Linked DNA regions of Homo sapiens: regions 1 and 3 are each linked to region 2. The links are contacts of gene promoters, found by promoter capture Hi-C in blood cells and fetal thymus (Javierre and others, 2016). All regions are on one chromosome and are shown on one strand. The core of a region is centred on a gene start or on the middle of the fragment in contact, and the rest is flanking DNA. Distances in the headings are between cores, read along the strand shown. Region 1 overlaps CNDP2 (carnosine dipeptidase 2). Region 2 holds the start of CYB5A (cytochrome b5 type A). Region 3 overlaps TIMM21 (translocase of inner mitochondrial membrane 21).

Region 1 (3,594 bases), core at 325-2,824, 210 kb after region 2:
CCGAGTTGTAGAAGGAAGGGCTTTATTCAGCTGGGAGCATCGGCAAGCTACTGCCTTAAAATCCGAGCTCCCTGAGTGCACAATTTCTGTCCCTTTTAAGGGCTCACAGCACTAAAGATTTCACATGAAAGGGTCGTGATTGATTTGAGCAAGCAGGCAGTACGTGACAGGGGCTGTATGCACCGGTGGTCAGAGAGAAACAGAACAGGGCAGGGAATTTCACAGTGTTCTTTTATACAATGTCTGGAATCTATGAATAACATCGGTTTTTAAGTCATGAGTTGATTTTTAACTACTAGGTTTAGGCCAGGCAGGCCCGGGTCCGGTTTTGGGCCTGGCGCCGGGCTGCCTGTCTTTGATTTCACTTCCTTGTTTTTTTTTTGTTTGTTTTTAAACAGGTACTGAGTGTAAAACAATATGAGAGGGTCTCTCTCTTCCCTCAGTACAAACAGTTTTTAAAATCTTTAACCCAAAGCACACGTGATGGGTCTGTCCTATTTCCAATCAGCCTGTTCAACTGCAGCAGCCACAGAGGGTGAGCCTGGAATGTGGCAACGTTACGGGAGCCTCTTCTCCCTCAAGGACACCTTTTCAGAATCCCTCGTTGCTTCTTGTCCACAAACAGAAACTCGCAAAATGGGTGGCTATCCAGAGTGTGTCTGCGTGGCCGGAGAAGAGAGGCGAAATCAGGAGGATGATGGAAGTTGCTGCTGCAGATGTTAAGCAGTTGGGGGGCTCTGTGGAACTGGTGGATATCGGAAAACAAAAGGTAGGAGGCAACATTCTTTGCATTGCAGGACCGTAGACAGATTCTGCCTGAGGGGTTGACAAGACGCCACAAGTTCTTAAAAGATCTTTTGCTTCACATACCCCACTCACCTTTAAAACAAAAAAGGAAGGGCCTGATTTGGATGGTAAGTTCTGTACGTGACTGCTTCAGTTGGATTGGGGCAAAGGTTTTGTGGCACTCAGCATTTTTCTCCAGGAAGGAGAACTGCTGACAGTTACTCAGGACTAAGTTAATGTAACAGTCATTCTGAGAGAATGGCTGAGATTCCCCTCCCAGCAATCCATAAGCTTTCAAACTAGGAAGTTACACTTTATTCAAGTCCATTTAAAAATTATAAAGACTCCCCCCAACCCCCGGCTCCCCCTCACACACAGTGCTGCGTCCTTGAGCCTTATTTTTTTATTTTTTTTATTTTTTTGAGACAGAGTCTCCCTCTGTCGCCCAGGCTGGAGTGCAGTGGCGTGATCTCGGCCCACTGCAACCTCCGCCTCCCGGGTTCAAGCGATTCTCCTGCTTCAGCCTCCTGAGTAGCTGGGCGAGCGCCACTACACCCAGCTAATTTTTATATTTTTTGTAGAGACGGGGTTTTGCCATGTTGGCCAGGCTGGTCTCGAACTCCTGACCTCAGGTGATCCGCCTGCCTCAGCCTCCCAAAATGCTAGGATTACAGGTGTGAGCCACTTTTTCATAAGAGATATTTTGTGTGGGGGTCTGTTGTTTTTCAGTGCAGGATTCTGACAGGTGAGAATGGTTTGTTTTCTTGCTAAATGAACAGTCTCACTTTGTGGTACAGTAAGTACTCACGTCATCCATAGGTTCTTAGAAACTGCAACTTTAAGCAAGACAACATACAACAACAGGTCCTTGAATAAGGTAGTTTTGTTCACTTAAAGTCACAGTTTCTAAAAGCCTATCCATGAAGTTGAGTGAGGACTTACTGTGTGTGTGTATATATATGTGTGTTTTTTTTGTCTTTTTGGTTTTTTTTTTTGTCGGGATGGGGTTTCACCATGTTTCCAGGCTGGTCTCAAACTTCTAGTCTCAAGCGATTTACCTGCCTTGGCATCCCAAATTGTCACGCCACCATACCCGGCCTCTTACTGTATGTTATTTCACTAGTTTATTTCAAATGATTTCAGCCTTATGTTAATTGCATGTTTCATGCCATATATTTTCAAAGTTTGTAATATTCTTTTATATTCTTTGATCTAATGATAAGCTATGGCTTATCTCGGTTCTTTGGCCTGATGATTTGGGTGTCAATCTGAAATCACAGCACTAGAAGCTTGAGTGTGGCCATTCAGTTCAGCGCATTCGTTTCATCAGAGGGAGAGAGTGGAGGCCAGGCAGCTCTGTCCACTGGGAGCCCACAGGAGGCTCATGCAGAGCAGGTTCATGCCCAGGCCTCCTGATTCCCCAGGCAGTGCTATTCATTTGAGGTTTTCTTCTGAAAACAAATTTAATAATTGACTTAGGGTATATTATAGCTTCCCACCAATTTTCCCCCCATCTTTGGGAGACTAAACCAAGTTTCTTCATGTTGTTTCTTTTTAGGGTCAGACTCACCTTGCTCCCTTTCGTTTTTTTTTTTTTCCTAATATATTGAAAAATCTAGGTGAGGTAAATCATTTTTAGGAGTTGTTTCATTACAATAGTTATATTTACTTCGTTGATCACTGACATTGCTGTGCAATTCTTAAGAAAGGGCCTTTCATAAAAAACTAAATTACTGTTATACTATTTTGAATTACATAACACTGATTTTTATCAAGGAATTGAAATATTTCATCACTGGTGGAATCTTCTGCAGAGATGCTTGCGGTGTGGGGTGACCACACATCTTCTGTTCTCTTCCCGCATGTCCATGTGGCAGTGGTGTTCTGTTTTTCAGAGTGATGATGACTTGATGCAGGGGTGAAGGTGGAAGTGGGTGTTTTCCTGTGTCAGTGCAGAAGTCAGAGTATTTTCAGCTGATGAAGGAAAGGTGATGTTGGGCGTTTCAGAACAATTTTACCTGTGGGCCAAAGCAGTTTCTCAGAAAATGCCTAAGTATTTCAGAGGAGCCCTATTGAACAGGAATTTATGTAGAGAAAATCTGTGGTCATTTGAAAATCATTTTTCTGCTCAGGCAAGCTGAGGGCCAGCTGGGACTGCCAAAGCCATGGGTTCCCTGGGACCAGAGCAGAGAGATTTCAGCCACAATTCTTTGTCCCTGGTGGGTACAGGCTGTCCTGGTGAGAACTGAGGCACAGATACAGCCACAGTGACGCTGGGACAAATGAGGGGCGTCAGGCCATACACTGCACACGCAGCCACAGTGCCGCTGGGACAAATGAGGGGCGTCAGGCCACACGCCACACACGCAGCCACACTGCCGCTGGGACAAATGAGGGGCGTCAGGCCACACGCCACACACGCAGCCACACTGCCGCTGGGACAAATGAGGGGCGTCAGGCCATACACTGCACACGCAGCCACACTGCCGCTGGGACAAATGAGGGGCGTCAGGCCATACACTGCACACGCAGCCACACTGCTGCTGGGACAAATGATGGGCGTCAGGCCATACACTGCACACGCAGCCACAGTGCCGCTGGGACAAATGAGGGGCGTCAGGCCACACGCCACACACGCAGCCACACTGCCGCTGGGACAAATGAGGGGCGTCAGGCCATACACTGCACACGCAGCCACACTGCCACTGGGACAAATGAGGGGCGTCAGGCCACACGCCACACACGCAGCCACAGTGCCGCTGGGACAAATGATGGGCGTCAGGCCATACACTGCACACGCAGCCACAC
Region 2 (3,846 bases), core at 429-2,928:
CCCAGGCTGGAGCAAAGTGGTGCGATTTCGGCTCACTGCAACCTCTGCCTCCCAGGTTTAAGGGATTCTCCTGTCTCAGCCTCCCGAGTAGCTGGGACTACAGGCGTGCCCCGCCAGGCCTGGCTAATTTTGGTATTTTGGTTAGAGATGGGGTTTCGCCATGTTGGTCAAGCTGGTCTCGAACTCCTAGACTCAAGTGATCCACCCGCCTCAGCCTCCCAAAGTGCTGGGATTACATGTGTGAGCCACCGTGCTTGGCCCAGCCTCATTTTTTAAAACAGGCCTTTTGATTTTAACATTTTCTGCAAAAACAAAGTCCTCTGATATAAACTGTGATCCAGCTCAGACCAGGCATCTATTTTTGTCCCCTGCTCCCCGACTATGTAAAAAATTCCCATCACTAAACCTTCTCATTATTGGGAGGGGGCGTGAGCATGCGTTAAGATTTATGATTGAGACTCCCCCAAAAGTAGTAAAACACTTCCAGAGGATCTAAGACAATCACCAAAAGCGCCCCTTAGCGTGTGCGGCAAAAATTATAACCGAATGCAAAGAATCTTATCAAAGGAATGTCTTCAAGTTAACCAACGTTTCCTATTACACCTTCCAAAGCTGTTAGGGGCGAGTCCCACGCAGAACGTCCGCTGCTCTGCCTGGCCTCTGTGTTCTTGCTCCAGCCACACACCGCGGTCTCAGGAGTCAAGCACGGCACCTGGCTGCCAAGGCGTGACTGGAAAAGGTTAATTAACACCGAGCCTCTTCCAGGTGAACGCGAACGCGAGTGGGTGTGGACCGCAAGGTCGGCCAGTGGCTGCCGCGGGAAGCGCAGGCCCGGACCACACCCGACCTCCGCACTTGGGGTCCCCTCCGGCGGGATCCGCAGCTCTCGGGGTGGGTGGTCTCCAGCCGGCCACTGCGGGAATGCCGCCGGTCCTGGAAGGACACCCTTCTATTCAAACTCAAGGGAGAAAGGGATCATTTAAATCCCCCGCATGGCTGCGCGCTATCCCCGGAAGGCTGCTCCAGCACCACCTAGCGAGGATGCCGCCGCGCAGGGCGCTCCCAGGTGTGCACGCGCAGGTGTACGGATTCGGGGAGCGCTCCCAGGTGTACACGCGCAGGTGTGCGGACTCAGGGAGCGCTCCCCAGGTGTGCACGCGCAGGTGTGCGGACTCGAGGAGAGCGCCCAGGTGTACACTAGCAGGTGTGCGGACTCGGGGAGCGCTCCCAGGTGTGAGCGCGCAGGTGTGCGGACTTGGGGCGGTGGGGGGCGCCCAGGCTTGCACGCGCAGGTGTGCGGACTCGGAAGCGCGCCCAGGCGTACACGCGCAGGTGAGCGAACTCGGGGGGCGCGCCTAGGCGTAGGTATGCGGACTCCGGGCCGCGAAAGACAGGTCATGCCAGTGAACCCCCAAACCCGGCCCACGCTCCCTGCGCCCCAAGCCGCTCATCCCCAACTCACCTCTTCCAGAAATTTGGTCAAATCGTACACCTTGTGGTGCAGGATCAGCCAGGTGCTCTTGCTGTGGTTGTGCTTCTGAATCTCCTCTAGGGTGTAGTACTTCACGGCCTCGTCCGACTGCTCTGCCATCTCGGTTCGCCGCGAGCCAGGCCCAGCACACACAGCCCCGTCGGGTGGAGCAGAGCGCGCGACTCAGCCAGCTCCACCCGGGACATTCCCCGCGCCGGGAACCCCACTGGGGGCTGGGCGGCCGGCTCAGGGGCGGGGCGCAGTAGAAGGGCCTCCGACGGTTGGCCATCATCCTTGTCACTCAAAAGTCCCCGCCTTCGGTCGACCCCCTCCGCCTGCCCAAGCGTGGTCCCGCCCAGTATGCGGGTGTTAATTGGCTGCCGGAGGTGCCCTTCACAATCTCCCGGCTGCCGCAGCGCGCGGAGAGCGTGACAGGACTCCACGGAGTCTGCGCGGAAGGGCGGGACTAACTGTGGCGAGGGCTGAGGTGGGAGGTCGGGGGCGTCCCCGCGGGTTAAGCGTGCGAGAGAGCGAGGTGCACCAGCGGGCATGGATGGCCTGTGCAGAGTCCAGTCTTGTGAGGGCGGCGAACTAGGCAGCGAATCGCGGGAGTTTCCTATTGGCAGCAGTCCGAGTCCCAGACGTTAATTTGTAACAAAAGTAGCGATGGCCAAGCCCATAAAGGGGGCATCTCGGAAAGCCGTTCGCATGCACGGAAGAGATGAAAGCCCCGTGCGCGCTAGAAAACGGTTTCGCAACTCACTTCGGGAAGCAAATGCGCTGCCCCCCAAAACATAAAGTTGGCGAACTGTGCCTGACCCCGCTGGGGTTTTGGAATGCCTCGTCCTCACAGGAAAAAAATCCAGGGAAATCATCTTTTCCTTAAAAAGCAAAAGTGTCCAAATTATTTCTGTGACTGAAGTAGTTTGTCTGCGGTTGGCCAGTGACATGGCAAGGCCTTGTTTGTGCATTTAAGGTAAATCAGATTCTCTTCTAGGAGTCTGGAAGAGAACTTCCCCAAAGGGCACCCTCTTTCCCTTCTGACACAGAGGAAATACCACATATAAAGAGCTACAAATGTTTGAAGGAGAAAAAAAATAAAGAAAAATTCCAGCATGTTAAAATTTGATATTTTATGTAGGCCCTTTTCAGCAATGGTAGTTAATTCCAAAAAGAACCACACGAGAGGTTTCACATGTGGGGTCATCCATCCTTCCAGGGATGCAGAAGGTTCCTACACATACTAGGTGTCTGATGAATGTGAGCTCCCTTCCCCCTGCTTACCTCCTCCATAGGAATGCATGCCTATCCAGAAAAACACAAAACACACGCATGTCAGGCCTCTGAGCCCAAGCCTGCACATATACATCCAGATGGCCTGAAGCAACTGAAGAATCACAAAAGAAGTGAAAATGCTGAAGCAACTGAAGAATCACAAAAGAAGTGAAAATGGCCGGTTCCTGCCTTAACTGATAAGACAGTCACCTGTCCTCCTGCTCTTTGCTCTGTGAGAAAGATCCACCTACAACCTCGGGTCCTCAGACCAACCAGCTCCAGGAACATCTCACCAATTTTAAATTGGGTAAGCAGCTTCTTTTTACTCTCTTCTCCAACCTCTCTCACTATCTCTCAACCTCTTTCTCCTTTCAATTTTGGCACCACCCTTCAATCTATCCCTTCCCTTAATTTCAGTTCCTTTCCTTTTCTGATAGAGACAGAGGAGATGTGTTTTATCCGTGAACCCAAAACTCCGGCACTGGTCACGGACTCGAGAAGACAGTCTTCCCTTGGTGTTTAATCACTGCAGGGATGCCTGCCTGATTATTCACCCACATTTCAGAGGTGTCTGATCACCACAGGGACACCTGCCTTGATCCTTCACCTTGGTGTCAAGTACCGACCCCCCCTGTGTCTCTGCCCTCTCTTTTCTCTGGGCTTGCCTCCTTCACTATGGGCAACCTTCCACCCTCCATTCCTCCTTCTTCTCCCTTAGCCTGTGTTCTCAAGAACTTAAAACCTCTTCAACTCTCGCCTGACCTAAAACCTAAACACCTTATTTTCTTCTGCAATACCACCTGACCCCAATACAAACTTGACAGTGGTTCCAAATAGCCAGAAAATGGCACTTTCAATTTCTCCACCCTACAAGATCTAGATAATTCTTGTCGTAAAATGGGCAAATGGTCTGAGGTTCCTGACATCCAGGCATTCTTCTACACATCAGTCCCGCCCTAGTCTCTGCTCCCAATGCGACTCATCCCAAATCTTTCTTCTTTCTCTCCTGTGTGTTCCTTCGGTCTCCACCCCAAGCTCTGAGTACTTTGAATCCTCCTTTTCTGTGGAGCCATCTGACCTCTCCCCTGCTCGCCGGGCTG
Region 3 (3,586 bases), core at 6-2,505, 140 kb before region 2:
GTGGTAGGAGGTATAGGGTACAATTGTCTTTTACTTGGGAGGGCATGTCTTGGCACGCCCCAGTGTAGCCCCACGAGGTCGGCTCATGTGTTGATGAGCCTCTGCATCTTTGTTGGACCCACCTCTCACACTTGCAGCTTCTCTGACCAAGCCTTCTAACACACTTGCCACTTGTTACTTATGGGCTCTAACATGATGGCATAAATATAGTAGACAAATGTGATATTCTCCTGAATGTCCAGAACAGCATTATTCAAATAAAACTTTCTGCATAGAAATGTCCTATATCTGTGCTGTCCATTTGGGTAGTTCCTGGCCACTTGTAGCTATTTTGAGCACTTGAAATGTTGCTAAAACTTGTGACTGAAGAACTGAATTGATTTAATTTTAATTAATTTAAAATTGAACTGAAATAGCCATGAGTGGCAAGTGGCTACTGTATTAGACAGCCCAGGTCCAGAAGGTTTCAGTCCCTTAAGACTGTTATGATAGAGGGTGAGAGAATTAGCAAATCCTGGGCAGGATCATAAACATACACTGTTATTATCTGTTTCATGTTACTACAGACTACTGCTGCTGCTTCTGAATAGAAGGCGTTCTTCAAAGCAATGGCCAATACCATGAGATTGTGTTAATGCATTCCCCTGTAAAGTTACCATTTGTGGTATTACATGTGTACCCCGGCTGCCACTTGGTTGAGTTTGCAGTTAACCACTGTCATTCTCCAGCACCTATTTGTGTTTTGTAAAGGAAGACTGGTAAATTACAAGGGACCGTGATGGGGATCGCCATGCCTGTATCTAAGGTCTCTAAGAATACTCTGCCATTCCCCATAGATGTGATATCATTTTTAATTTCCTATCTTGGTCACCGAAAGGGCAGCTTCAGGGGCTTCCATTTGACTTTTCCCACTGCGATGGCTCTTAACCCACTTCCAAAGGAACTAAAGTGGGAGTTATTGTTGCCAGTTACTCAGTACATCCCCTTGATTTATACATTTGGAAATCACAGAAATTATTGCCAGGTAAGTCCCTGGACCCACCTGTGAGCTTCTTACATCCGGTGATGGAGGGCGGTCAGGGGGTCATCATGACTCTTTGGGTCCTTGGGTATCACTGTCAGCACAGACTATGTCCAAGTTGATAACTGTAGGTCCTTTTGGTGAAGGACGGGGGGAGTCAGTTACATACGCTTTCCTTCAGTAAATGCGTTCCAGGTCTGAAAACTGGTTCAGGTCCAGAAACTGGGGCAATGTTCAGGACTTTGCATTAGAGCAGCTGCCTTCAGCCTCAGGAATCATCTGTAGTTAATTTCTCATGACTGTGTAATTCAGAAGTAGCCTTGTCCGCTGCCCTTGTGTCTTCCCTTTGGAAACACTGTGTTCTAGTCATCAACTCTGTTGCTTTCTGTAGGTCAGACACTCCCGACTGCCACTCCAGCCTTGCCATTAGTTATGATGGTTGCACCCACCTTGGCTTCTGTTTAACACCCCAGCCTGGTCTCTGCTTCATAATTCTTTCATCTCCATTTCTGTCAGGGCATCCTGCTCTATAAAGATGTAACTGTGGCTTCCTTGTGGCTTTGGTACACAGTGTCCTCCTGTCCCTCCTAAGAACATAGTCAGCTGGTGGGTTTTCGGGCTTTATATCTTATATCTATGGTAGCATCCCCATTCTTGGAGGCTGTTGAGCCTTTCGTCCAGTTTGCCATGGCTGTTCTGTCACTTTTACTTAATGTGGACCATCACTGTCTCGAAGTTTCCAGGAGCAGACCTAGCCAGCTGCATATCAGTTCCCAGGGTGCTTGCCTGGTTGCTAAATTCATCACAGGAGCGTGCCCCATGCTGATCAACTCTCAGCTGGTTTTGTGTTCTGTGCCCTTGACACACCACCCTTAAGAAGCAGTGGTGTCTATGTTCCCCCCCCCCCCGGGGGGACCTCCAGCTCCTTCCGAGTATTGTTCTTCTCACCCTTCTCATGCCCAGTCGTGTTGTAACTTGGCCAGGAGGGGAGGTGGAGAGCCCTCCTGAGAGCAGCACGTATCTTGCTAGGCAGAAACCCCCACCCACCCCTCGCCCAGTTTCCAAGGTGGAGGAAGTGCCAACCTTTACCAGACACTGAGCTGCTGCTTCAGGGCTAGAGGGGTCAGGAGAATTGGGATTCAAGATTTTTTACAACATTGACCTCAAGGGCCCCCTACCCAGCTTTAGGTTGCCTTTCCTCCCAAATCAGGACCCTGACCTTGGTGTGGGAGGTCTCATGGGCTTGAAATGCCAAACTCCCTGAATCCCTTCCGCCCCAGACCTCACCCACGCATTTTCTATCCTCTGGGTGCAATTTGAGTCTTGTTCTGCCGGGGAGGAGGCTCCTGCCCTTGGCACTCACCTTCACTGGTGATTAGTTACACACTTCATCTCACCATCCCTCTCCATGGCCCCAGCCACAGCCGTCTGATATAAGTCCTTAAAATTGCTGATTCCTCCTAAACTCCCAGAATAACACATCAGCCAGTACATTCCCTTCCGCCAGCATTCCATCCCAGGTCCCCATTGGTGAGAGCTGCATCAGCTGCACTACAGCTCTATGACAGGTGCTGTCAGTACCCCCCTACCACCAGGGACAGGGTCCTCATTGCCAGCCAGTGGCCGGCAAGCCAGCTCCAAAATCCAAATTGAGAGCTGCTTACCACTCCTGGTAGCACCCGTTGTAGGTTGGCTTCCCAGGGAAGTGGGATTTGCGTAAGGTTTATCAGGGAGTGCTCTCAGAATACGTCTTGAGGGATGAGGGAAGCAGGACTGGGCAGAGGGAGAGGCCGAAGTGCATTTGCAGTTGGGGCCTCAGCTGCTGCTCTGGGGACTTCTGGAGCTGAGCTGGCCAGTCACTGTCCTACCTAATATGGGGGCTGAGTCTTATGCTTCTGCATCAACCAGGCATTGAATATGGGCTGGTCCAGGGAAGTGCCGTGACCTAAGTGAGGAAGCTCTCTTATGATGGAATGCCCAGAGAGGAGCTCAGCTGACAACTGTCCGCTACCAGTGCTCCCTGCAGCTGGGAGCCCCATACCACAGCACCCACTATAGGAGGGGTAGAGAATTGTGGAAGCAAATAAATGGCATGAGGGTTTTTTGCATACAAGTATTAGGTCTGATAGGGTTCAGAAAGTTAGACAGTGAGCAGCTTCCATTGGAGACAGCTATAAAGTAACAAACAGAAATTTTTCAAGTGTGTAGAATATGGAGAATATTTAGCACAGGGCTTTATATATAACAGATATACAGGAGCTGTTGTTTATCAAATAAATGGAAAAGACCTGTCAGATACCCTAAGCAAGGTAGGAATGAATTGTTGGAAGGGACAGTCAGAAGTCCAGGGTGTTGGGGCCAATGACCCGGTTTGGGTAACAAGGACAAATAAGGATACTTACTAGAACTAGTTAGTTGTTATTGTATTCTCAACCTGGGAGTTGATACATAACTGGCAGGTAATATTTATTGAAATGTATTTTGTGACACTGAGAGTGGAATGAGATGTCGTCATTGTAGGCCCCAACTCCTGAACCTTGGAAGGGAAATTGGATTTGTGACAAT

The links. Contacts are between HindIII fragments. The CHiCAGO score rates a contact against its expected background, and 5 or more counts as called.
Region 1: a fragment that was not itself captured here is called in contact with the fragment with the promoter of CYB5A in region 2 in 6 of 17 cell types (total CD8 T cells, naive CD8 T cells, naive CD4 T cells and 3 more); the score reaches 9.1 in total CD8 T cells.
Region 3: a contact is called between a fragment that was not itself captured here and the fragment with the promoter of CYB5A in region 2, in 3 of 17 cell types (total CD8 T cells, naive CD8 T cells and fetal thymus). The highest score is 6.1, in total CD8 T cells.

The regions. Positions count from the first base shown.
Region 1 is chr18:74,500,704-74,504,297 of GRCh38, forward strand. It overlaps CNDP2 (carnosine dipeptidase 2), which reads left to right. Exons shown (of 12, transcript NM_018235.3): 3 at 626-769. Among named protein-coding and RNA genes, the nearest start is that of CNDP2, 6.1 kb to the left of the region's middle. The HindIII fragment of the contact is 998 bases long and covers 1,076-2,073 here.
Region 2 is chr18:74,290,285-74,294,130 of GRCh38, forward strand. It overlaps CYB5A (cytochrome b5 type A), which reads right to left and starts at 1,679. Exons shown (of 5, transcript NM_148923.4): 1 at 1,463-1,679. The coding sequence starts at 1,591. RefSeq lists enhancers at 258-865, 1,471-1,640, 1,720-1,889, 2,179-2,238, 2,598-2,767. The HindIII fragment of the contact is 14,442 bases long and covers 1-3,846 here.
Region 3 is chr18:74,150,021-74,153,606 of GRCh38, forward strand. The region is part of intron 1 of TIMM21 (translocase of inner mitochondrial membrane 21); the gene reads left to right. Among named protein-coding and RNA genes, the nearest start is that of TIMM21, 3.3 kb to the left of the region's middle. RefSeq lists an enhancer at 497-1,696. The HindIII fragment of the contact is 5,042 bases long and covers 1-3,586 here.